5 separate regions of the Homo sapiens genome follow, and regions 1, 2, 3 and 4 are each linked to region 5. Evidence: promoter capture Hi-C in human tissues and cell types (Jung and others, 2019). All regions are on one chromosome and are shown on one strand. Each heading gives the region's core, a stretch centred on a gene start or on the middle of the fragment in contact. The rest is flanking DNA. Distances are from core to core; before and after follow the strand shown. Region 1 overlaps TSC1 (TSC complex subunit 1). Region 2 holds the start of AK8 (adenylate kinase 8). Region 3 overlaps RAPGEF1 (Rap guanine nucleotide exchange factor 1). Region 4 overlaps RAPGEF1 (Rap guanine nucleotide exchange factor 1). Region 5 holds the start of SETX (senataxin).

Region 1 (4,900 bases), core at 771-3,270, 540 kb before region 5:
TCCCCCGACCCCGGACAGTGTTGGACAGCTACATATCATGGACTACAATGAGACTCATCATGAACACAGCTAAGGAATGATGGTCAATCAGTGTTAACTTGCATATTGTTGGCACAGAACAGGAGGTGTGAATGCACGTTTCAAAGCTTTCCTGTTTCCAGGGTCTGAGTGCAAGTTCATGTGTGGAAATGGGACGGAGGTCCTTTGGACAGCTGACTGAATGCAGAACGGTTTTTGGATCTGGCATTGAAATGCCTCTTGACCTTCCCCTCCACCCGCCCTAACCCCCTCTCATTTACCTCGCAGTGTGTTCTAATCCAAGGGCCAGTTGGTGTTCCTCAGTAGCTTTACTTTCTTCCTTTCCCCCCCAAATGGTTGCGTCCTTTGAACCTGTGCAATATGAGGCCAAATTTAATCTTTGAGTCTAACACACCACTTTCTGCTTTCCCGAAGTTCAGATAACTGGGTTGGCTCTCAATTAGACCAGGTAGTTTGTTGCATTGCAGGTAAGTCTGGTTTTGTCCCTTCCAGGAGGACATAGCCTGCAAAGCTGGTTGTCTTTACATGAAAGCGTTTACATGAGACTTTCCGACTGCTTTTTTGATTCTGAAGTTCAGCATCTAAAGCAGCAGGTCTAGAAGAACAACGGTTTATTCATACTTGCATTCTTTTGGCAGTTCTGATAAGCTTCCTAGAAAGTTCTGTGTAAACAGAAGCCTGTTTCAGAAATCTGGAGCTGGCACTGTGGAGACCACACACCCTTTGGGAAAGCTCTTGTCTCTTCTTCCCCCACTACCTCTTATTTATTTGGTGTTTGCTTGAATGCTGGTACTATTGTGACCACAGGCTGGTGTGTAGGTGGTAAAACCTGTTCTCCATAGGAGGGAAGGAGCAGTCACTGGGAGAGGTTACCCGAGAAGCACTTGAGCATGAGGAACTGCACCTTTAGGCCATCTCAGCTTGCTGGGCCTTTTGTTAAACCCTTCTGTCTACTGGCCTCCCTTTGTGTGCATACGCCTCTTGTTCATGTCAGCTTATATGTGACACTGCAGCAGAAAGGCTCTGAAGGTCCAAAGAGTTTCTGCAAAGTGTATGTGACCATCATTTCCCAGGCCATTAGGGTTGCCTCACTGTAGCAGGTTCTAGGCTACCAGAAGAGGGGCAGCTTTTTCATACCAATTCCAACTTTCAGGGGCTGACTCTCCAGGGAGCTGATGTCATCACACTCTCCATGTTAGTAATGGCAGAGCAGTCTAAACAGAGTCCGGGAGAATGCTGGCAAAGGCTGGCTGTGTATACCCACTAGGCTGCCCCACGTGCTCCCGAGAGATGACACTAGTCAGAAAATTGGCAGTGGCAGAGAATCCAAACTCAACAAGTGCTCCTGAAAGAAACGCTAGAAGCCTAAGAACTGTGGTCTGGTGTTCCAGCTGAGGCAGGGGGATTTGGTAGGAAGGAGCCAGTGAACTTGGCTTTCCTGTTTCTATCTTTCATTAAAAAGAATAGAAGGATTCAGTCATAAAGAGGTAAAAAACTGTCACGGTACGAAATCTTAGTGCCCACGGAGGCCTCGAGCAGAGAGAATGAAAGTCTTTTTTTTTTTTTTTTTTTTTTAGCATGGCAATAAATATTCTAGCATCCCTAACTAAAGGGGACTAGACAGTTAGAGACTCTGTCACCCTAGCTATACCAGCAGAAAACCTGTTCAGGCAGGCTTTCTGGGTGTGACTGATTCCCAGCCTGTGGCAGGGCGTGGTCCCAACTACTCAGCCTAGCACAGGCTGGCAGTTGGTACTGAATTGTCAGATGTGGAGTATTAGTGACACCACACATTTAATTCAGCTTTGTCCAAAGGAAAGCTTAAAACCCAATACAGTCTAGTTTCCTGGTTCCGTTTTAGAAAAGGAAAACGTGAACAAACTTAGAAAGGGAAGGAAATCCCATCAGTGAATCCTGAAACTGGTTTTAAGTGCTTTCCTTCTCCTCATGCCCAAGAGATCTGTGCCATAGAACAAGATACCAGGCACTTAAAGCCTTTTCCTGAATTGGAAAGGAAAAGAGGCCCAAGTGCAAAAGAAAAAACATTTTAGAAACGGACAGCTTATAAAAATAAAGGGAAGAAAGGAGGCAGCATGGAGAGAGGCCTGTGCTAGAAGCTCCATGGACGTGTCTGCACAGGGTCCTCAGCTCATCCATGCGGCCTGGGTGTCCTTTTACTCAGCTTTATAACAAATGTGGCTCCAAGCTCAGGTGCCTTTGAGTTCTAGGAGGCTGTGGGTTTTATTCAACTACGGTTGGGAGAATGAGACCTGGAGTCATGTTGAAGGTGCCCAACCTAAAAATGTAGGCTTTCATGTTGCAAAGAACTCCAGAGTCAGTAGTTAGGTTTGGTTTGGTTTTGGACATGATAAACCTGCCAAGAGTCAACAGGTCACTTGATCATGCTGCAGTGGGTAGTTCTAAGGATGGAAAGGTGACAGTATTACTCTCGAGAGGCAATTCAGTCCTGGGCAAAGGTATTAGTACAATAAGCGTTAAGGGCAGAGTCTACCTTGAAACCAATTAAGCAGCTTGGTATTCATAAATATTGGGATTGGATGGCCTCCATCCAGAAATCACTATGGGTGAGCATACCTGTCTCAGCTGTTTGGCCAATGTGCATAACCTACTCGGATCCCCACCTGACACTAACCAGAGTCAGCACAGGCCCCGAGGAGCCCGAAGTCTGCTGCTGTGCAGCATGGAATTCCTTTAAAAAGGTGCACTACAGTTTTAGCGGGGAGGGGGATAGGAAGACGCAGAGCAAATGAGCTCCGGAGTCCCTGCAGGTGAATAAACACACAGATCTGCATCTGATAGAACTTTGATGGATTTTCAAAAAGCCGTTGACAAGGCTCTGCTATACAGTCTATAAAAATTGTTATTATGGGATTGGAAGAAACACGTGGTCATGAATAGAAAAAAAACAAACCCAAAGGTAGGAAGGTCAAGGTCATTTCTTAGATGGAGAAGTTGTGAAAGATGTCCTTGGAGATGAGTTTTAGGACCAGCATTACTAAGGCAGGTGGGCAGACAGTGACCTCTCTAGGTGTGTCCACAGAGTTTTTCAGGAGAGAAAACTGCCTGACCTTTGGGACTAAGCTGCGGAATCTTCTTACTAAGCTTGAAGAGTGGAGAGGCGAGAGGTGAGCTACTTTGTGAGCCAAAGCTTATGTGACATGGTTGGGGAAACAGTCCAAACTGTTCTGAGAAGGTGAACTGTTACGACCCAGGACAATTAGAAAAATTCACCCACCATGCCGCACATTACTGGGTAAAAGCAGGGCAGCAGGGAACAAAACTCCAGACTCTTGGGCCGTCCCCATTTGCAACAGCACACATAGTTTCTGGTATATTTGTTGGGAAAGATAAAACTCTAGCAGTTGTTGAGGGGAGGATGTATAAAATGGTCATGGGGATGAAAGGATCTCTGAGACCACAGAGGCTCAGACTCACTGTTAAGAATAGAAAACTGGGTATGCGTTTCATGTAGCCAGCAGAACTGAAGTGTGCTGTGACAAGCCAATGTGAATTTCTACCAAATAGTAGAGCATACCACTTGAAGAAGGAAAGAACCGAAGAGCAAACAAAAGTTCTGCGTAATGAGACTCACCTTTTCTCGCTGAAAGCACTAAGAGGTGGGAGGAGGCCTGCACAGGCTGGAGGAGGGTTTGGGCAGAGCGAAGACCCGGCCAGGACCTTGGTGAGATGGGGTGCCGCCCACCTCCTGCGGATACTCTTGGAGAGTTGTTCCCCCAGGGGGCTCTGCCCCACCTGGAGAAGGAAGCTGCCTGGTGTGGAGTGACTCAAATCAGTATACCTATCTGCTGCACCTTCACTCTCCAGGGTACATGCTTTAAAACCGACCCGCAACAAGTATTGGAAAAATGTATCCAGTCTGAAGATGTTTGTGTATCTGTTTACATCCAGAGTTCTGTGACACATGCCCCCCAGATTGCTGCAAAGATCCCAAGGCATTGATTGCACTTGATTAAGCTTTTGTCTGTAGGTGAAAGAACAAGTTTAGGTCGAGGACTGGCCCCTAGGCTGCTGCTGTGACCCTTGTCCCATGTGGCTTGTTTGCCTGTCCGGGACTCTTCGATGTGCCCAGGGGAGCGTGTTCCTGTCTCTTCCATGCCGTCCTGCAGTCCTTATCTGCTCGCCTGAGGGAAGAGTAGCTGTAGCTACAAGGGAAGCCTGCCTGGAAGAGCCGAGCACCTGTGCCCATGGCTTCTGGTCATGAAACGAGTTAATGATGGCAGAGGAGCTTCCTCCCCACTTCGCAGCGCCACATTATCCATCCTCTGAGATAAGTAGGCTGGTTTAACCATTGGAATGGACCTTTCAGTGGAAACCCTGAGAGTCTGAGAACCCCCAGACCAACCCTTCCCTCCCTTTCCCCACCTCTTACAGTGTTTGGACAGGAGGGTATGGTGCTGCTCTGTGTAGCAAGTACTTTGGCTTATGAAAGAGGCAGCCACGCATTTTGCACTAGGAAGAATCAGTAATCACTTTTCAGAAGACTTCTATGGACCACAAATATATTACGGAGGAACAGATTTTGCTAAGACATAATCTAGTTTTATAACTCAATCATGAATGAACCATGTGTGGCAAACTTGCAGTTTAAAGGGGTCCCATCAGTGAAAGAAACTGATTTTTTTTAACGGACTGCTTTTAGTTAAATTGAAGAAAGTCAGCTCTTGTCAAAAGGTCTAAACTTTCCCGCCTCAATCCTAAAAGCATGTCAACAATCCACATCAGATGCCATAAATATGAACTGCAGGATAAAATGGTACAATCTTAGTGAATGGGAATTGGAATCAAAAGAGTTTGCTGTCCTTCTTAGAATGTTCTAAAA
Region 2 (4,709 bases), core at 1,519-4,018, 520 kb before region 5:
GAGATTGAGACCATCCTGGCCAACACGGTGAAACCCTGTCTGTAATAAAAATACAAAAAAAGTTAGCCGGGCACGGTGGCGGGCGCCTGTAGTCCCAGCTACTCGGGAGGCTGAGGCAGGAGAATGGCGTGAACCTGGGAGGCGGAGCTTGCAGTGAGCCGAGATGGCGCCACTGCACTCCAGCCTGGGCGACAGAGCAAGACTCCATCTCAAAAAAAAAAAAAAAAAAGATAGCTGCACCTTGCCATACTGAGGCCTGAGGCAAAAGGAGAAATCAGTAACACTGAGCCTACCTTTACTTAAATTTTTGACATGTTATTCTAAATGGATTTTAGGCAGCATTATTTTTGATTTTTAAAATATATTGCATTAAAACGTGAAAAACATCCACCTCAATGATTGAATTGCCGGCACTCCCTTAAGTTTTGTGCTGAGGGTGCATCACTTGCCTTGCCCTAATGTTGGCCCAGGGCTTACAAATGACTCAAAGGTGAAGCTCCAGAAAAGTGAGAGAGAGCACATAGGTGGAGTTCCAGGGAGAAAGGGCGTGTGCCCTTTCGGCCTGGCTTTTCCCTCATCATGGTGGGAGCTGTGGTTGGTAGTGGTTGAGAGGAACTGACTCTGTTCTTGATCCTAGCAACTTGTGACATGCACGCCAGGAATGTCATGAGAGGAGCTGTAATAAGCTATCCGAAGTGATCGTCCCTTGAACGAGAGCCACTGCAGCCAAATTAGTGTGGATGAAGGGCACAGGGGACGGGCACTTCTCGATCTGGGGGAGGAGGGAGGAAAAAAATGATTACCCATAGGTTTTAGGCTTTAATTGATTTGTATTTTTCCAGGCTGCTAAAGAAGATTGAATCATGGTAGGAAAAGCGCCTAGGGCTTAAAATAAATGAGGAGAAAGGCAAGTCATTTCAGAAATGTCCAGGAAGCAAAACAAACCTCTCCAGTGCAAATGGCAGGCATGGCTGTTGTGTTCTTTGCTCAGGGGGAGGCAGCTTCCTTTTCTTCCCCAGCTATCTTTACAGTTGGGTTTGACAAGCCTACCAAGGTGTACACACTTTGAGGAAGCGGTTTGGAGGGGAAGAGGCAACAGTGCTGGCTTTTACGTTGGGAGGGCATGTCTCTGGGCTGATGGCTGGTAGAAAAGGGCTTTAGCTGGAGCCTGGATGCAGAGTTCATGCCCTGGCTCTGCCCAATCTAACCAGTGGCCCTAGCCAAGATTTCCCCCTTTTCTGGGCCTCAGTTTATCCATCTGTCAAATGAGAGAGTTTGGATTAGCCTCTTCTTCAAGAGGCCTTCTGGTTCTAAGGCTGTATGATCAACAACTGATGAGAAAAGAAGCCCAGAAAGGGGAAGTGACTCACCCAAAGTTACCCAGCCAACCACTCCTCATTGTTCTAATCCTCCAACTTCTCATCTGTAAAATGGGAATGAAGGTGCCTATTTCACAGGATTGTTGGAACGATTAAATGAGATACTACTACTAATAGTAGCCCCATATATTGTGTGCTTACTGCATGCCAATTACTCTCCAATACATTAGCTCCTGAAATCCTTCAGCAGTTCCCTCTTCACAGGGCAGGAAAGTGAGGCACGGAGCAAGCAGAGAGTTTGCCAAGCTCACACAGTAAGAAGCGGAGCCAGAACTTGAAGCTGGGGCTGTCTGCATTGACTGTGCCATTTTCCCTCTCCATAAGGTACAGAGACAACAGAATTTTGCCGAGAGCACAAAGAGTTCAACAAACTCTTACAGCTCCTACGATTAACGGCAACAGACAAGAGCTAGAGATCCCAATTCAGTGTTGCGACTAATAAAATATCAAGCTGCCCCGTACCACTGGGAATTCATACGACTTAAAAAGCTCCGTCTCCAGCGCGAACCTTCCCCTCGCCCCCACCCCGAGACAGCTGTGCAGGCCCCTCCATCCTCCGGACCCCTCCATCTTTCCATCCTCCACCCCAGCTTCCAGTTTCTGACCCAGAGGCCGGGGTGGGGTCCGAGTGGGCCCACCCACACTCATCCCTGTTTACCCTTGCTTGTCCTAGAGCGCTCTTCGCTCCACGGAGCACCCAGAGAAGTTGGAGTGACTCCGTGAGTGTCGGTGCCCCGGAGGGTGGGGAGGCCCGTTCCAGGACTTGGGAGGCGAGGGTGGGTGGGGACGTCGGGCGAGAAGGGGCGGGGCCGCGGGCGTGATTGTTACCGCCGGTGCCATAGCAATCGGGTCACTTGGCGGCTTGGCCAGAGCCGGGGAGCTGGGAGGGGTCTACCGGGGCTCGACTCTAGGAGTTGGGCTGAGGATTTCCACCCGATCCTCGAACCTCCGGCCCATCTCATGGACGCCCCTCCCCCTTCAAACACCCTCCCCCACATTTATTCCCGCGTCTGTTTTAAAGATGGGTAAACTGAGGCACAGGGAGCCGGGCCGGGGAGCACTGACAGAACCAGAAGCAGGTTCTGCCTCCCGTCCCCTCGGAGGGCCGACTTGCCCCTTCTGGGTTTCGTCGGGGGTCTCAGATACGAGGAGGCCCAGCTGGAAGCCACCTGAGGGTGTCCCCCGCTAAGATGCGCAAATGGGAAAAGCGAGGCCGGGGTTGGGGAAAGAACTTGCCCGAGCCGCAGAGCGCGTCAGCCGGGGAGGTCGGGGCGGGGGCGACCCGCGCGACCGAGGATCGGGTATCTGGGCCCGGCGCGGAGCCTGCAGGGCGGGGCCGCGGCGCGTGCTGATGACGCAGTCGGCGCGGCGGCCCTAGCGACGCGGTTACTAGGGAGCGGCGAGCCGAGACGGCTACATGGACGCCACTATCGCCCCGCACCGTATCCCCCCCGAGATGCCCCAGTACGGGGAGGAGAACCACATCTTCGAGTTGATGCAGGTGACCGGACACCCCTGCCCGTCGCGACGCTGGCGGCGGCTCGGGAGCCTCCACTGCGACGTCGGGTGCGCGGCCGGGACCCGCAGCTGGGGCCGAGTCGCGCGCCCACGAAGCAGCCCAACTCGGGATGTACGATTCGTGTGTCGCCGTGACCCCGAGGGGGCCCTCGAGCTGGGGACGCTCCTGGTCCTGCCCGGGTTTGCCTCAGGCGGACCCAGGGGGAGGAAGGGGGCCACTCGAGCCGGGATTTGGTCCTGGCTGTGCCGCCAGCGGGCCTTATGGTCTGGAACCAGTCCTTTCCTTTTCTCGGTTTCCCCACCTGTGAAATGCCAGGTTGCAAGAGGTGGTCTCCCAGGGGCTCTCCCGGCGCTGACAATTACCATCTGTCGAATTTGTGGGGAGCCTCTCGGCCCAGGTTTCTGAGGTGGGCATTGTCCGAGTTCAAGCTGGCATCTCCATCCTCAGAGAGGGCCGCCTCTGGGACAGCAGCATCTCCCACCTTGGTCCCTCCTCCTCAGGGCCAGACGTCCCCGGCAGCTCCGAAGCTCTCATTCTGGCTCCAGGCCTGACTGGGCCCCCAGCTCACCGTGTGACTTTGGGCGAGGCCCCGTCCCCGCCAGGGCCCCAGTTTTCCCTTTTGCACGTGGTGGAGGTCAAGGCTTTCAGGAGCTGGAGGGGAAGAACTCTCAGCCACTCAAAGGTTCTGAGAGGCAAGGGGAAGCTGGAGCTCAGTTTTCAGATCATTTGTCTGCTTCCCAGGGTACACCCCATCCCCAGGGGCATGGCATGGAGGGCATAGTGGTGTCTGTGGTCATTTGAGGTTCTGCCCTGCACACTAGACAGCTGAGCCCAGACGAAGAAACCCGTGTCTGCACCTCCATCAAACACATTTCCCTCGGAAAGTGTTAACTGATAGAGGGAGAGCAAGAGATTCCTAAAACTGCTTGAGTGGCCAATCACAAATCAAATAGCTAGCTGGGTTAGAAGTCAGCAGGTCAGGGCAGGATGGGGGATCATCTGGAGCCCTGTTGTCTGCTCTAGAGAACCTGGTGTGTTTTCCACATTGATTGTTGGAGGAATTGCCCAGGAAAGCTTTTATTGATTTTGAAACAGGGTCTTGCACTGCTGCCCAGGCTGGAGTGCAGTGATACAATCATGGCTTACTGCAGCCTTGAACTCCTGGGCTCAAGCAATCCTTCTGCCTTAGTCCCTCCAGAGTAGCCGAGACTACAGGTGCAGGCCACCATACCTGGCTAATGTTTTTTTTTTAATTTTAGTACAGACGAGGTCTTGCTATGTTGCCCGGACTGGTCTTGAACTCCTGGGCTCAAACAGTCCTTCTGCCTCGGCCTCCCAACAAGAAAGCTTTCAGTCCAGTATTTCCAGTCCTTAGTCATCTGTGGATTCCCTCCATGTTTTTGACCATTTCCATTTTTTATACTTTTGATTTTAAAATAATGTTAGATTCACAGGAAGTTAAAAAATAGTATGGATTTCTGGTCTCCCCTCCCACATTGCCCCCGTGATAACATCTAACATAACTGTAGCACATTGTCAAAACCAGGAAACTGGCATTGGTACAATAGGATTACCTGAACTGTAGGCCTTGTTTGGATTTCCTCCATTTTTACCTGCATTGATGTTTTTGTTGTGCATACAGTTCTGTGCAGTTGTATCACATGTACAGATTTGCATAACCGCTACTGCACCTCCATTTAAACTAATCACTTGTTTAAATCAACTCACCTTTTAAAAAATTAAATAGCCGCTTTTGCCTCATCCTAAGTGATATCCTTGAAATTATTGATTTGATGTACTTATATTTCTAA
Region 3 (4,972 bases), core at 1,376-3,875, 640 kb after region 5:
GTATGACTATGTACAAATCTTAACTCTTTCAGATCTCAAAGAAAAGCTCTGTGTCTTAGTTTCCTCCTCTGTAGAATGAGAACAGTAACAGTATCCTTCTCTTATCGTGAGGATCTAATGCAACCACGAGAGTAAAATACACAGAAAGGAGCCTGGTACTGCATGGGCTAAGTGCCTAATGAACATCAGCTTACTACTATCTCTCCGGGTGACAGAGTGAGACTGTCTCAAAAAAAAAAAAAAAAAAAAAAAAAGCCCTGAAGGGTTTATGTGACTTGTCCAGCTGGGTTGAAGAGCTAGGTTGAAGCCGCTGCCCAGTATTGAAACAAACCCTTATAAAATAGAGAAGTAGCTTAATAATAGCCCCAAAAAGACATCACAGACTGAAGACTTTTCTAGTAGTATAAGTACACGTGAACAAGAAAATGGTGACACTTCTGCTTCCAGTTCATGCTTCTTGTCAGCAGTATTGCGAGGGAAAAACAACAGTGATCTAATGAGCCCTGACAAGAGATGGCCAGAAGCTGAGCAGTTGGGAAGAAAACTCTTTGGTGAATCTCACTCTGAATGTATATTGTGCCTTGGGATATTAGCTGATTAATTTGGATGACATATTAGTCATGATAAGCAAGACATTTACAAACTAAGCATCCAGAACGTGAAAACTAAAATTTTGCCAAGCACCGTGGCATGTGCCTGTAGTTCCAGCTACTCTGGTGGCTGAGGTGGGAGGATCACTTGAACCCAGGAGTTCAAGTCCAGCCTAGGCAACATGGTGAGACCCTGTCTCACACACACACACAAAAAGCCACAACCTCTAAAATTTAAATTATATCTGAAGTCACGCAGTACTCCCATGAGTAATTTTACAGCATCAAGTGTACGTGCTCTGTAAAGGGTTTCATCTCAGCCTTCTGTTTTGGGCTCTTCTGTCTCCTGAATTGCCATTTGGGAACAGGCAGCCTAGTCCCGTGGCACTAAGCCAGCTAGCTAAACACTGGTCCTTCTCAAATGCATGTTTCCAGCCCCTCTTTAGGACATTATGCACCTGAACCAGAACTCTTGGTTCTCCCCTTCACTCTCTGCCTGGTAACTCACCTTGGGTTCCCCTATCACAGTAAATAATGCCATTTTTGATCCGATTGTTCAGGCTTAGAAATCTTGGTTTGGATGAGAAAACAATGAGGGTGTCCTTGCCTCCTCTCTCCCAGCGCACATCCAGTCCCTCGGTAAACCCCTGCGATTTACTCCAATAAATCCTGACTGGTCCTTCTTAGTACCTCCTCTGCTGACCCCTTACTCCAGGCCACCGCCGTTTCTCCCTGGACTGCCCCATGCCTTCCTAACCGGCTTCTTGGTTTCTTCTCCCAACTCACAGCCATTCATTCTGCATTTCACAGCCAGAGTGTGAACTGGATCACATGGATCCTCTTTATGATTGCCTGGGGCTTCCCCACACATGTGAAGCGATCCGAGGTCCTCGACGTGGCCTGTGTGCGCCCTGGACTCTGGCCCTTAACTCACTCCCTGACACCCCTCTCCCCGTCACTGTGTCCCAGCCACACTGGCTTTTGTGCTCTTCTTCCAGGTGTTCCTTTCCCTCAGAGCCTTTGCACTTGCCGTTCTCTTACTGGAACATTCATTCCCCAGATATTGTAGGGCACCTGCTGAGAAGCCATGGACAAGAGCCACGGTTTAAAGGCTGCTGGTGCCACCGTTTGCTGATCATGTGATCTTGGGAAAAGTTGCTCACCCATCTCCTTTTAAAAATCAGTTTCTCATTGATAAGATGGATCCTGCGGTAGGGTTTTGGTGAGTTCATGCTGGGGAGTACTCGATTGGAAGAACTGGGCAAACATGAGTTCCTCTTCCTGTGTCCTTTGCTCCCTATCCCTAGCTGCCTCACATCTTTGTTCAGATGCCACCCAGAGAGGTCAGCCCTAACCACTGGGCCCAGAATAACAGATAGGGTGCGCATCACTTTCTGTCCCTCATCCCCCGCTCTTTTTCCCCCTTTAAATGTAGCCTTTTTTTTTTTTTTTTGAGACAGTCTCACTCTGTTGCACAGGCTGGAGTGCAGTGGTGCAGTCTTGGCTCACTGCAACCTCTTGGGTTCAAGCGATTCTCCTGCCTCAGCCTCCCCGGTAGCTGGGATTACAGGCATGCACCACCATGCCTCGCTAATATCTTGTGTTTTTAATAGAGACAGGGACCATGTTGCCAAGACTGATCTTGAACTCCTGAGCTCAGGCAATCTGCCTGCCTTGGCCTCCCAGAGTGCTAGGATTACAGGTGTGAGCCACCGCGCCTGGCCTATTTGCTTCTTTTTTATGATATTTTCCCTCATTGGGAGGTAAGCTCCCTGTCGGCTGCTATTTCACCAGAGCCCAGAATGGTGCCTGGCACATAGCTGACGCTCACTAATTTTTGTTCAGTGGATAGTGAGTACCCATTGTGTATGGACTCCACACCTCTTAAGGGAGACAGGTGCATTTTTACAAGCTTGAGGAGCACAGCCAGAGTGCAGGCTGTGACCGTGTTCATCCTCATGCAGCTCAGTGCAGAGGGCCATCAGCAGTGAGTGGCTCTGTCAAGTTTATCTGGAGGCGGGGAGTTGTAAAGGGCAGAGGCATCACAGCCTGGAGGCTGAGGTCAGCGGGCTGGCCAGGAGAGGGGCTGGAGTCTTCCCCAGTGCGGGCATTACCCCTTCCAATACTGCCATGGTCCAAGTGAAGCAGAGGCTGTGGGACCCGAGGCTGTGGGACCCTCAACACTGATCTTTGAGAGTCCACTGGATGTTGGCTGTGAGGTTTCCTTTGACTCGCTGGAGAGGAGGGACAGGAGCTACAGTGCAGGCAGGCAGGTGCACGGCTATGCACAGTGTCCAGTCGCCGTGTGAGGAAGTGGGAGATGAAGGTGGGAAAGGTAATTTGGGGCCAGACTCCAAAAGGCCTTGAATGCCAATCCACGTACTTAGGACTTCTACCTTTAGTATTACAGGAAGCATCGAGGGGTTTTTATTATTTTATTTTTTTGAGACAGGGTCTGCCTCTGTCACCCGGGCTGGAGTGCAATGGCGCGATCTTGGCTCACTGCAACCTCTGCCTCGCAGGCTCAAGCCATTCTCTCACCTCAGCCCCCCGAGTAGCTGTGACTACAGACACACATAACACAATGCTTAGCTAATTATGTTTTTCCTTTTTTTGTAGAGACAGGGTTTTGCCATGTTGCCCAGGCAGGTCTCAAACGCCTGGGCTCAAGTAATCAACCTACCTCTGCCTCCCAAAGTGCTGGGATTACAGGCATGAGCCATAGTGCCTGGCCACATCAGGGGTTTAAGAAGCATTCTCCTTACATATTTAGACTTTCCACCAAGTCTTCCAAATTTCTCCCTTTCCCATACTGAGGGCTACGTTTAGTTCCTGGCCAAGTCCTGACTTTGTAAAGAACAACAAGTAAACAGCTTCTTCAGAAGGCTGGATGCTGAGCCCTGATTGCCCTTCAGTGAACCAGCCTCATCCATGAAGCTTCTTGAAAAGCCAGAAACTGTATCATTGGGGGGGTCCTTGAAATCTGAAGCAAGGGACAGGTTCTGAGCCCCTGTGTTTTGCAGATTAGGTTGCACAAGAAAGATGGGCTGGTGACTTTGCAGTTCATTTCCGTAGATTGTCCTTCTAGGCCTGCCTGGATAGAAGCAGCCTCGTGTGGGATCCAGCAGCAGTGGCCAGTGGGATGGGAGCCAGCATATGTAGTTGTTGACACATCCCCTGCAGACGTGGGTCGGCGGGCTAGCTGTGGGAGAGCACTGCAATGGGAGTCAGTGACTTGGGGCCTCTAGCCTCCTGTGAAAGGTCTTTTTTCTCTGGACCTCAGTTTCTCCATTTTATTGTAATGAGTTGGGCTAGATCAGTAGTTCTTAACCTCTTTTTTTTTTTTTTTTTTTTGAGAGGGAGTCTCGCTCTGTCACCAGGCTGGAGTGCAGTGGTGCAATCTCCACTCACTGCAACCTCCACCTCCCGGGTTCAAGTGATTCTTCTGCCTCAGCCTCCCGAGTAGCTTGGGAGTACAGGTGCTCACCACCATGCTCAGGTAATTTTTGTATTTTCAGTAGAGATGGGGTTTCACCATCTTGGCCAGGATGGTCTCTATCTCCTGACCTTGTGATCTGCCCACCTTGGCCTCCCAAAGTGCTGGGATCCTAAGTACAGACGTGAGCCACCGTGCCCGGCCATTCTTAACCTCTTGAAACTCCTTAAGACTTTGGTGAAAGCCATAGACCTCTCTTCCCAGAAGAATGAACACGTGGTTTGCCGGCACCTTAGGAACCCCCAAAGCCCATGAGACAAAGCCCTGGATCTATAAGGCCCTGTCCCATCTGACCCCCGGCCTTCCCCTGGGCACATACCTCCAGCTACACAGGTCTTTCATACACACTGCCCCTTTGCCTGGTCCAGCTCTGCTCATCCTTCAAGTCTCACCCTTCCCTGACTTCCAGCTTAGATTAGGTCGCCCTGCTAGACATGCGTCCCCCACCCTGAATTTAGCACTGATCACCGGGATAACTAAGTGATTCTTCGTGCATGTTATCCGACCCTCCCCAAGCTCCGTGTTGGTATTTGTTGAGTAAATCTCTGAGGCCCCTCCAGCTATGACATTCTGAGACTGATCTATAAGTTTGCAGATGTGTCATAAGAGAGTCCCTGAGCTTGTATTTCCTATGACATTCGACACGTGGTGGCCTTTGCCTTCGATGATTTCCTCCAGGCCTGGACAGGAAAGTTACTTCAAAGCAGTCTCGGCCAGACTCGGTGGCTCATGCCTATAATTCCAGCACTTTGGGAGGCTGAGGCTCGAGGATCACCTGAGGCCATGAGTTTGAGACCAGCCTGGCAACCAAGCAAGATGCTATCTCTACAAAAAATAATTTTACTAATTAACCAGGCATGGTGGCAAGTGCGTATAGTCCCAGCTA
Region 4 (4,834 bases), core at 1,310-3,809, 710 kb after region 5:
GATATGAAACTGTTCGGCCACTCAATTCCTGGGATTTCCCCCCTTTTTGTTGTTTTTGTTGTTTTTTTGTTTGTTTGTTTGTTTTGAGATAAGAGTCTCACTCTGTCGCCCAGGCTGGAGTGCAGTGGAGCAATCTCAGCTCACTGCAATCTCCGCCTCCCAGGCTCAAGCAATTCTCCCGCCTCAGCCACCCGAGTAGCTGGGACTACAGGCGTCCTCTACCACGCCTGGCTAATTTTTGTATTTTTTAGTAGAGATGGGGTTTTGCCATGTTGGCCAGGCTGGTCTCAAACTCCTGACCTCAAGTGATCTGCCCGCCTCATCCTCTCAAAGTGCTGGGATTACAGGCATGAGCCACCGCACCCAGCCGGGATTTTCCCCTTTATTCATTTTTCCAAGAGAGGTCACAGAGAAAAATTCAGTGCTAAAGTACCGCTCATTTAGTGGGGTGCCTGTAAACCCCAGGGGCCATTTGGCAATGTCTGGAGACATTTTTGGTTGTTGCCATAGGAAGGCAAAGCAGATGTTATTGGCTTCTAGTGGGTAGGGGTTGGGAAGCTGCTAAACATCCTACAATACACAGGACAGCCCCCCACACAACAAAGAATTCTCTGCCCCAAAATGTCAGTAGTGCCAAGGCTGAGAAACCTGTTCTGTAGCAGGGAGCTGTAGGTGTGATCTTCACCCAAGAAGGAATGTTACCCCTTTTTCATCATTGCTCATTAGGAAGGGTTGGATGTCTGTGTTCTGTCCCAAGCCACCTGCGTGGGACAAGTAAATGCGAACCTCTTGCTTCGTGGAGGCCCATGGACAGAACCAGAAGCATTGAGAAACTTCCCAGAGTACGTGGACTTAGAGGATTATGTCCAAGAAACCTTGCAGTGGGTCTGTCATCTGCTGCCCTCGTTGATTATTCATTAGCTCTCTTACCACTTAGGGAGTGATTACGTACATTCTTATTTTACTTCAGGTCATATGCATGGCTTTCCCTGCTCAGATACGAGGGAAATGGAAGTGCAGGGAGATGAAAGTACAGATTCAGATTCGCTGCCACTTCCCGAGGGCTCCTTCTCGCCCCAGCCCTGTCCTGGGTGGTTTCAGACATGCTGTCTTATTTACTCCTCACCATAATTGTGTGGGGAAGCTTTTATTATTCCCACTGTGCAGACAGTGTTGGCCCTGGTGCACATTTTCTTGATCAAAATCTGTTTTTCTCACTATATTCTGTTGTCTTCCCAGACTGATTCCACATTAGCAGTCTCTTGCATCTTCTTAGTGAATTTAAAAATTCAAAGTACATTGTGATGAACTTCTAAACTTTTTTGCAACCTTTTAACAAGTCTAGCAGTGAGCTGCAGAGTGTTGAAGTTGTAGAGGAAATTTAGCCATATACTGGGTGTCCAAAGGTATAATTACAATGAGCAGTGAGCAGGGGGTCCTGGGAGGTGTTAATGCCCCATCTCTGAGGGCATTTGGACAGAGATTGGATCCGAGTGCTCTTGGGTGGATTCCTGAAAGCCTTTCCCCTTCAGCTCTTCCAGGGAGATGCTGCTGCCGGACAGCCTGGTGGCAGGTGGTGATTTGGTGCTCTCATTGTAACCAATGTCTGTGTTCGACATGTCTTCTTGCTAGGCCTCACTGTTCTGGACTAATAGGAATAATGTTGCATTGCCATTTTTTTTTTAATCCTGCAATTCTAGTTTTTTATTATACTGATTGTGACTTGCCCTCCCCCTCACTCCCTGGCTTTACCCACATTTTCAGGGTACACTGTCCTATAGTGTGGAAATGAGGCTTATGTTGCTGTGGAGAGGGGAGGCACCCAGGCTGCAGATGGGACAAGGAGTGACAGAGCAAGTCGGGTGTCCCGGCTGCGGCACGGCTGTGGGGAGAGAACTGTCTGGAGAGGAGGGCCAGTTTTCCTCACCCTCTTCCCCGCCATCTCCTGTGGCAGCACATGGCTGTGGAGCCACAGCCTGGGCGTCAGAAATGAATATGGCCCACGGGGCAGGAAAGGCGATGGGGATTTTATGTCCATCTCTGCCATCGGGGTCTTAGTTTACTCGTTTGTTAAATGAGATCTTTTTGACCAGGGGATCTCAAGTAAACTTTTTAACTTCAGCACATTTCTGATCTGGTCTTTATTCTCCTCTCTATCTCTCCAGGCTCTGAACTCAGACAGACCAAGTTCAAATTCCATATCTGTCACTACAGCTGTGTGGCCTTAGGCAAGTTGCTTAACCTCCCCCACGTCCCACTAAGCCTCAGTTTCCCCACCTGTGAAATAATAGTATCCACTTCACAGGGTGGTTGTAACCTTTAAACAAAATAGCCTATATAAAATCCATAGCACAGTGGGTGCCTCCATGTCCCCGATGAGTGGTAGCTACGATCTGGCCTCTTTCTTCCCTTTCAGATGTTCCCATCCTAGGCCCTCTTTCTCTGCTTTATTACTGGCAGGTATATGGTCTCTGGTGTTGGTATAGTGCCTGTTAAATGTTGTGAACCACTTCATATGCTTTCTCATTCAGTCCCCCACAGTCACCTCTTTAGTTACACGGGGCAGATGTTATTCTCCCCATTTTGTGGGTGACAAGCCCAAAGCCCAGCAGTTGGCTTTGTCTCTAAGCCATCCCCAGACACGGACAGCCTCATTTAGTTTCCAGGCTTATGTGGACCAATGATGGCAATCCATCCCCCACAGCAGGAGGGGTGCGCAGGTGAACGCACCTGCCCTCGGGTTATGCAGCGAGGCAGCTTCAGCAAAGCCAAGGCATGGAGTCCCCAGTCCGAGCCAGTGCTGGATGTGGCTGTGTGGCTGTGAACTCTCACTGCTGGCTGCATTCACAAGGATCCCCAGCTTGACAGCTGAAAGGCTGGAGAATGCACAACACCCAGAGGCCATTAATTCTGGGAGTAGAATCTGAGTTCACGGAGGCAGCCTGGCTGTGCTACATTGTTGGCTCCTTTAGGAGGAGCCCAGGACAGCCTGACTCTTAAACAGCTGATTTGATCTCTCTGCAATGACAGAAAAACTCTCTGCTCTGAAGTGCCTTGCCACTTTCGAGTGCCTCCCATCTTCAGATTAGCCACTTTCTCCCTGTGTGACCTGATGACACATTTTCTTAAAATGTTTCCTGTTCCTCAGCAAGTTTCATCATTGCTGGTCTCTAACACTTTCTGATGTGCTAAGGTGGCAGTGTTACTGTCATAGTCCTCTTCTTGCCTGGTTGACCATGGCTTTAGGCACATCTGAGGTCTGTCGGCACTGCGACTCCTTCACACTCAGGTTCCTCCCTGCCCCGGGCAGATGACATGAAGCAGAGAGCTCTTGTCCACGAGGTGGAAAAGTAAGCGCCCAGCCTCTTGGAAACAGACCGTAAACAAATCTGTCAGGTAGTGAAAAGAGAAAAATAAAGCCAGGGTGCAGGACCCAGGGATGGGGATGAGGAAGGGCACTTCCCCCACCATGGGAGAATTGTGTCTTCTAGTCTGCAGGACACCTTGTGGGAAAGACTCAATGAAAGAAATGACTGGGTCTTTTGTGCATTGTCTGACTAAAGTAGCCATTTATATATTTTTCTTTTGACATTCCCATGAAATAAAAGCCTCTACTATTGAACATTTTTATATTTAAAATGATATTCTGCACCTTTTTTTAAACTTTATTTTTTTAATTGAGACGGTGTGTCACTATGTTGCCCAGGCTGGTCCTGACTCCTGGGCTGAAGTGATCTGCCCACCTTGGCCTCCCAAAGTGCTGGGATTATAGGTGTGAGCCACTTCACCTGGCCAATCGGCACTATTTTAGAAGAAAAGAGCTAGTATTCAGAATCATAAGCACTTTTTATTAATTTCTACCATTTGTTTGTCTGTATATTGTTTAAATCACCTTTTTCTAGAAATTATCTTCTTGCCCTCAGTTTTTATTTATATCCTCTAGACCTCTGAGATCCTGCAGGTGGCTGTTTGCCTCATACACACCCCTCTTAATTTGCACTAGACATGTAATCGACTACTTGAGTACACTGTCCATTTTGGGATTTATCCATTCTGTAGACTACTCTTTTTTTTTTTTTTTTTAAAGGACAGCCTCCCAAACCAGAACAGGTTCAGAGACTCCACTTCTGTAGATTACTCTTAGCCTCCTTTTCCTGCCAGCCAGCTGAGACCTGGATCATTGACATCAGGGCAAGTAGAGGGGAAGTTGGAGAGAAGAACAAAAGGGGTGTGTAGACCCACCAACTGGATCCAAGGCCTCCCACGGTCAGGGAGAAAAGCTTGGGGTTGTGGCTTAAACACTGGAAAGCGCAGGGCTCTGTATTTTCCCTTTCTCTCAGGTGGGCTTCTCTCAGGAGCAGAGGGACCATGAATGCTGCTAGCGCCCACTGCATGAGTCGTGATTGAATCTTGAGAATCACGGTCATCTGCTCTGGCTTCTCTGCCTTTTCTCCCCAGATTTCCTGCCCCTTCTAGCCCTGGGAGCTTCCAGGCCCTTGAGGAATAGCATATCATTTCCTTGAGTGGGGGCTTCAGTGGGGTGAACAATCTGGGAACCTAGTGAGGAGTCCTGAGGGAATGGGTTTCAGCCCCTCATGCCCTGGACCAGTCTTACACAGTCTTTCAGATCTTTGAAACAAAAGCCTGGAGCTTCTTGATGTGATTTACAGGATACAGATGTACCATGGGCCTTGACTGGTGCTTCTCCAAGTCATCAGCAAATTAGTCCTCACTCTAGTTAACAGGGTTAGTGGTGGTCTGTCAGTGTGGCTGATGAGGACAGACAGGAGGATAAGTGGTTTTCAAGACCTCAGGGTCTGGAAAGGGAATTCAG
Region 5 (4,607 bases), core at 384-2,883:
TTTTATCGCCTGAGTCACCACTACTAATTGTTTAATTTCCCTGTCTCCTCTATTAACTGTAAGACGGTGACGCTGCATCATCGTGGTCAGTAGTAGGCGTTACTAAAAGGGGGTAGGGGCCGGGTGCGGTGGATCACGCTTGTAATCCCAGCACTTTGGGAGGTCGAGGCGGGGCGGATCACTTGAGGTTGGAGTTTGAGACCATCCTGGCCAACATGGTGAAACCCCATCTCTACTAAAAACATGAACATTAGCCGGGCGTGTGGCACACGCCTGTACTCCCAGCTACTCGGGAGGCTGATGCAGGAGAATCATTTGAACCCAGGAGGCGGAGGTTGCAGTGAGCCGAGACTGCGCCACTGCACTTCAGCTTGGGTGACAGAGCGCGACTCCATCTCAAAAACAAAAAAGGGGGGGGATAGGCTTTCCAGTGGATTTTACTCATTTTTATTTATTTATAGACTTTTCTGAGACAGGGTCTTGCTTTGTTCCCCAGCCTGGAGTGTAGTGGCACAGTCACGGCTCACTGCAGTCTCGATCTCCCGGTCTCAATGGATATCCACCCCCTGCCTCAGCCTCCCAACAAGCTGGGCCCACAGGTGCTAATTTTTTTTTTTTTTTTTTTTTTTCCGGAGAGAGAGTCTCGCTCCTTTGCCCAGGCTGGAGTGCAGTGGTGCGATCTCGGCTCACTGCAACCTCTGCCTCCCGGGTTCAAGCCATTCTCATGCCTCAGCCTCCTGAGTAGCTGGGATTACAGGCACCCGCCACCACGCCCAGGTAATCTTTTTATTTTTAGTAGAGACGGAGTTTCACCATGTTGGTCAGGCTGGTCTCGAACTCCTGACCTCAGGTGATCCACCCGCCTCGGCCTCCCAAAGTGCTGGGATTACAGGCGTGAGCCACCGCGCCCGGCCTCGGTGGCTGAGTTTTAATTTTTTTTTGTACATACGGGTGTCTCGCTATGTTGCACAGGCTGGTCTCTGAACTCCGGGCTCAAGCGAGCCTCCCGCCTGGGCCTCCCAAAGTGGTGGGATTAGAAGCGGGAGCCACCGCACCAGCGAGGGATTTACTCTGCTGTGTTGCGCATCGCGCGCATTGTTCGCAAGACCTAAGGTCTCCCTTTCTTGTAATATAAAGGATATACACATATTCCTCCGAAATTACACGTTTATGTAATTTACATTTCAGGTCTTTAAAGGAAATCTAAAGAGAAAAATTACTTCGTCACCGTAGTACATCCGCTGAGACACCTGAGGCGTGGAAAAAAGAAGAAAAAAGAGGGAACGGAAATGGCCAGCGGGTAAGGGCTGACCCCACCCGCAGCAGAGCTCATCCCGGAGCCGCCCCACCCGCAGGAAGCCCCGGGCGGGGCCGAGGTCAAGGTTCCGCGGCAAACTCTCCCCGTCCACCCTGACGGGGACTCGGGATTGGTCGGGCCCCAGCTGCCCGGACGTGACGCCAGCGCCCGGCGTGGGCGGTGCACCGCGGCCGCTCTTCCCATGCCCCGCCCCCTGGGGGGCACCAAAACCAGAAAGCAGCGGCCGGGGCGGGGCCTGCGGCCGGCCGACTCAGCGCGGGGGCGGGGCCTACCTCGCGGCAACAGCTGGTTGGTAGCTGCGGCTGCGGGCCCGCACTTCCGCTGGTGGCCTAGAGCGGGGCCCGGTATGGAGGTGGGCTAGAGGCCGACGCCAGCCAGAGAGCGGTGAGGGTAGCGGCGGGCTGGAGGCCGTAGGTCGGGCGGGCGTGAGCGCAGGCGCGGCTTGTGCTTGCAGGGCCGCTTCGGGGAACCATCGCGGCGCCTAGGTCCCGGTGGGCGGATGGGGGAAGAGTCGGCGCGGGCTCGGCCGCTTCCCTCGGTGCGGGGGCGGGAGCACCCCTCGACGGCTGGCGGCCGCCTGTTGCCTTCCTGCGCGCTGGACCCGGCCGCTGCGACCCCCTGTCCTTCCGTTGTCTACACTGCGGTCTCGTGTGAGCTGTTTTTGGTGTGGATACTGCGTAGTTTCCTTGGGGCTGAGCGGGAGGTCTCGGGGTGGAAAGTGTCGGTTCCCTCCACACGCTCGTCTGCCTCTCGCCTGGAGTCCCTCCCTTTGTTTTTTTTTCTTTTTTCTTTTTTTTTTTTTTTTGAGACGGGGTCTCGCTCTGTCACCCAGGCTGAAGTGCAGTGGAACAGTCACGGCTCGCAGCAACCTCGTCTTCCTGGGCTCCAGCGATCCTTCCGCCTCATCCCCCCGAGTAACTGGGACCATAGGCGCGCGTCACCACGCCCGGCTAATTAAAAACAAAATGTGTTGCAGAGACAGGGCCTGGCTGTGTTTCCCAGGCTGAGCTCAGCTGCTCCAGGGATCCTCCGAGCCGCCGCGCCCGGCCGGTCCCTTCGTTTGGAGGAGAGTCTGTTTCTCCCACTTGGAGGGGCTGGAGCTTTTGCTGCTGGCCACAGGACTTTGTCCGTCCTCCCCAACTTCTGGGGATCTAAGGATGTGCCCAGCAATTTGCACGACCCAAGTGAAACGGGGGTGACTGCCTTGAGGGAAAAGAGCTCCACAAGGAGAAGGCCGAGTGTGGTATTTGATAAGTGACACAGCTGAGGATCCTAGGATTGATGTTACCTGCGCGGGCTAATAACTTGGGGGATTTTTGGCTCGGTGCCTAGCTGTCCCCGTGAGTGGGGACAGCCCCTTGTGGAACTGGGAGTCAGAATTGCAGTTCTGCTGTTTCCTGGAAGTCCACAGCCAAGTTGTCTAACCTATCTGGGCTTCCTCATCAGCCAGCAGTATCTGTCTGTAATAGGATCGATACCAGGCTCAGATGGGATATAGAGTATAAATGCCACTTACCAATTTCGTTTTTTGTTTTTTAATTTCAGAAATGTTCTTTTGGGGCCAGAGTCTGGGCATATATGAATGCAAATCCGTGTTTGTTCACAACTAAGCCCAGCTGAGACGATCACTTTTCTGTAGGCCATTTGTCCAGGTAATAATTTTTTTTTTTAGCAGGAGTTCAGAGCACCAAGGTAAGTGCAATGATGGAAACATGTGCAGAGTCCTAAAGGGACAGAGAAGAAGGTCATCAGAGATAGACTGGAAGAGAGGACGGGTCGGACAGGCCCCCCCCCCAGACGTGATGACACTCAGGAAGAGCTTGCACACTGGTTGTTCTCAAATCCAGCTTTCTCTTCGAATCTTAGTGGAGTTCTTTAAAAGGGAAACAATTTTATCCATAGGATCTTTTCTACTTTTTTTTTTAAGTTCCTGAGGTAAGTCTGATGTGTATTCACAGTTAAGTACCGGGCAGAGGTAGGAGGGTGGGTTTCCAAGGCCAGTGGAAGAGCTTCCATAAAGGCAGGGAATACCAGTCACCATGAATGGTTTTAGGAAGAGCAAGTCAAGGGAGGTAAGTGTGGAGGAAAGAGATGATGTGGAAGCTGGATCATCGCGGGCCTTGTGTGTGTTGAGCTCAGCAATTTGAATTTTATCCCAACATTGGAGGAGGAGTCATTTGTGCTTTCGAAGTCCAGTTTGGGGCTTTGGCCTCTGGCAGCATTTTGGAGGAGGAATTGATGGCGATCAAAGAAGAAATAGATCATTTAGGCTTCTTCAGTAATCCAGGCAAATGATGAAAATGTACTGAACTAAGGCAGTGGCGGTTGCACTGAGAAGAAAGTAGAGATGTAATTAAGGGGTAGGCTCTGGAGCTCAGAGATTGCGGCTGAGGGAGAAGGAGCGTATAGGATAATTCCTAGGTTACTGGTTTGAAAATTGAATGTATGGTAATGTCATCAACAAGGGAATATAGAACAAATAACAGATTTAAGGGAAGGACTTCGTTGGGTTCTGGTCATGTTTACTTTGAGGTGCCTGTCAGATATGTGAGTAGAGATACACTGTATGCAGTTGGATATTGAATATATCTGGAGTTCTAGGCTAGGCTGTCAGTTATTGAGTAGGTGGAACAGTGCATCATTTCACTCAACCTCCCCAGTAGCTGCGACTACAGGTGCATACCACCATGCCCAGCTAATTTTTATATTTTTAGTAGATACGGGGTTTCACCATGTTGGCCAGGATGGTCTTGATCTCTTGACCTCGTGATCCCTCACGCCTCGGCCTCCCAGAGTGCTGGAATTACAGGTGTGAGCCACTGCGCCCTGCCTGCATTAAGTTTTACAATACATTCTCAGTCTGGGCAGCTTCAATCTAGGCAGTAGTTGAAGCAGTGGTTTGAAGTAGGCCGCCCAGAAAGAGTACTGAATGAAGAGGTGAGAATTCTCAGGACAAGCCTTCGAAAACTTTAGCATTTATATGAGTAACAAAGGCAGGGGTAATTATGAAGGTGATTGGGTAGAAGTGGTGTCCAAAAAATGGTGTGTTGTAGGTAAGGAAAGGATGGGCAGCATTTTCATATGCTTTAGCAGAGTCAGGTCAGGAACCTATTGGATTGGTAATGTAAAGATTGTTAGGGACTTCACATTCAGTGGAGTGTAAGGGTAGAAGCCAGAGTGCAAAGGAGCTGAAGAGCTGGGAGGTAGTGAATCTAAACTTCCAGATGTTTAGCTGAGAAGTGTAGAAGAAAGAGATTGTTATTTGAAGTTTCTGGCTAGTTAATGTTGA

The links. The method cuts DNA at HindIII sites, captures the fragments that hold promoters and counts their contacts. A contact is called where the count stands out against the background at its distance.
Region 1: a fragment that was not itself captured here is called in contact with the fragment with the promoter of SETX in region 5 in 1 of the 25 tissues and cell types used here (IMR-90 fibroblasts).
Region 2: a contact is called between the fragment with the promoter of AK8 here and the fragment with the promoter of SETX in region 5, in 1 of the 25 tissues and cell types used here (mesenchymal stem cells).
Region 3: a fragment that was not itself captured here is called in contact with the fragment with the promoter of SETX in region 5 in 1 of the 25 tissues and cell types used here (dorsolateral prefrontal cortex).
Region 4: a fragment that was not itself captured here is called in contact with the fragment with the promoter of SETX in region 5 in 1 of the 25 tissues and cell types used here (dorsolateral prefrontal cortex).

What each region holds. Positions count from the first base shown.
Region 1 is chr9:132,891,408-132,896,307 of GRCh38, reverse strand. It overlaps TSC1 (TSC complex subunit 1), which reads left to right. Exons shown (of 23, transcript NM_000368.5): 23 at 1-4,900. The coding sequence ends at 73. Among named protein-coding and RNA genes, the nearest start is that of SPACA9, 15 kb to the right of the region's middle. The HindIII fragment of the contact is 3,205 bases long and covers 418-3,622 here.
Region 2 is chr9:132,876,343-132,881,051 of GRCh38, reverse strand. It overlaps AK8 (adenylate kinase 8), which reads left to right and starts at 2,768. Exons shown (of 13, transcript NM_152572.3): 1 at 2,768-2,880. The coding sequence starts at 2,797. SPACA9 (sperm acrosome associated 9) reads right to left here and starts at 2,154. Exons shown (of 4, transcript NM_001316897.2): 1 at 2,038-2,154. The HindIII fragment of the contact is 8,008 bases long and covers 1-4,709 here.
Region 3 is chr9:131,714,836-131,719,807 of GRCh38, reverse strand. The region is part of intron 1 of RAPGEF1 (Rap guanine nucleotide exchange factor 1); the gene reads left to right. Among named protein-coding and RNA genes, the nearest start is that of RAPGEF1, 23 kb to the left of the region's middle. The HindIII fragment of the contact is 3,620 bases long and covers 816-4,435 here.
Region 4 is chr9:131,643,643-131,648,476 of GRCh38, reverse strand. The region is part of intron 3 of RAPGEF1 (Rap guanine nucleotide exchange factor 1); the gene reads left to right. Among named protein-coding and RNA genes, the nearest start is that of RAPGEF1, 94 kb to the left of the region's middle. The HindIII fragment of the contact is 5,406 bases long and covers 1-4,834 here.
Region 5 is chr9:132,352,012-132,356,618 of GRCh38, reverse strand. SETX (senataxin) reads left to right here and starts at 1,633. Exons shown (of 26, transcript NM_015046.7): 1 at 1,633-1,702; 2 at 2,864-2,970. RefSeq lists silencers at 1,334-1,723, 1,774-1,983 and enhancers at 1,368-1,867, 849-2,048, 1,868-2,369. The HindIII fragment of the contact is 18,222 bases long and covers 1-4,607 here.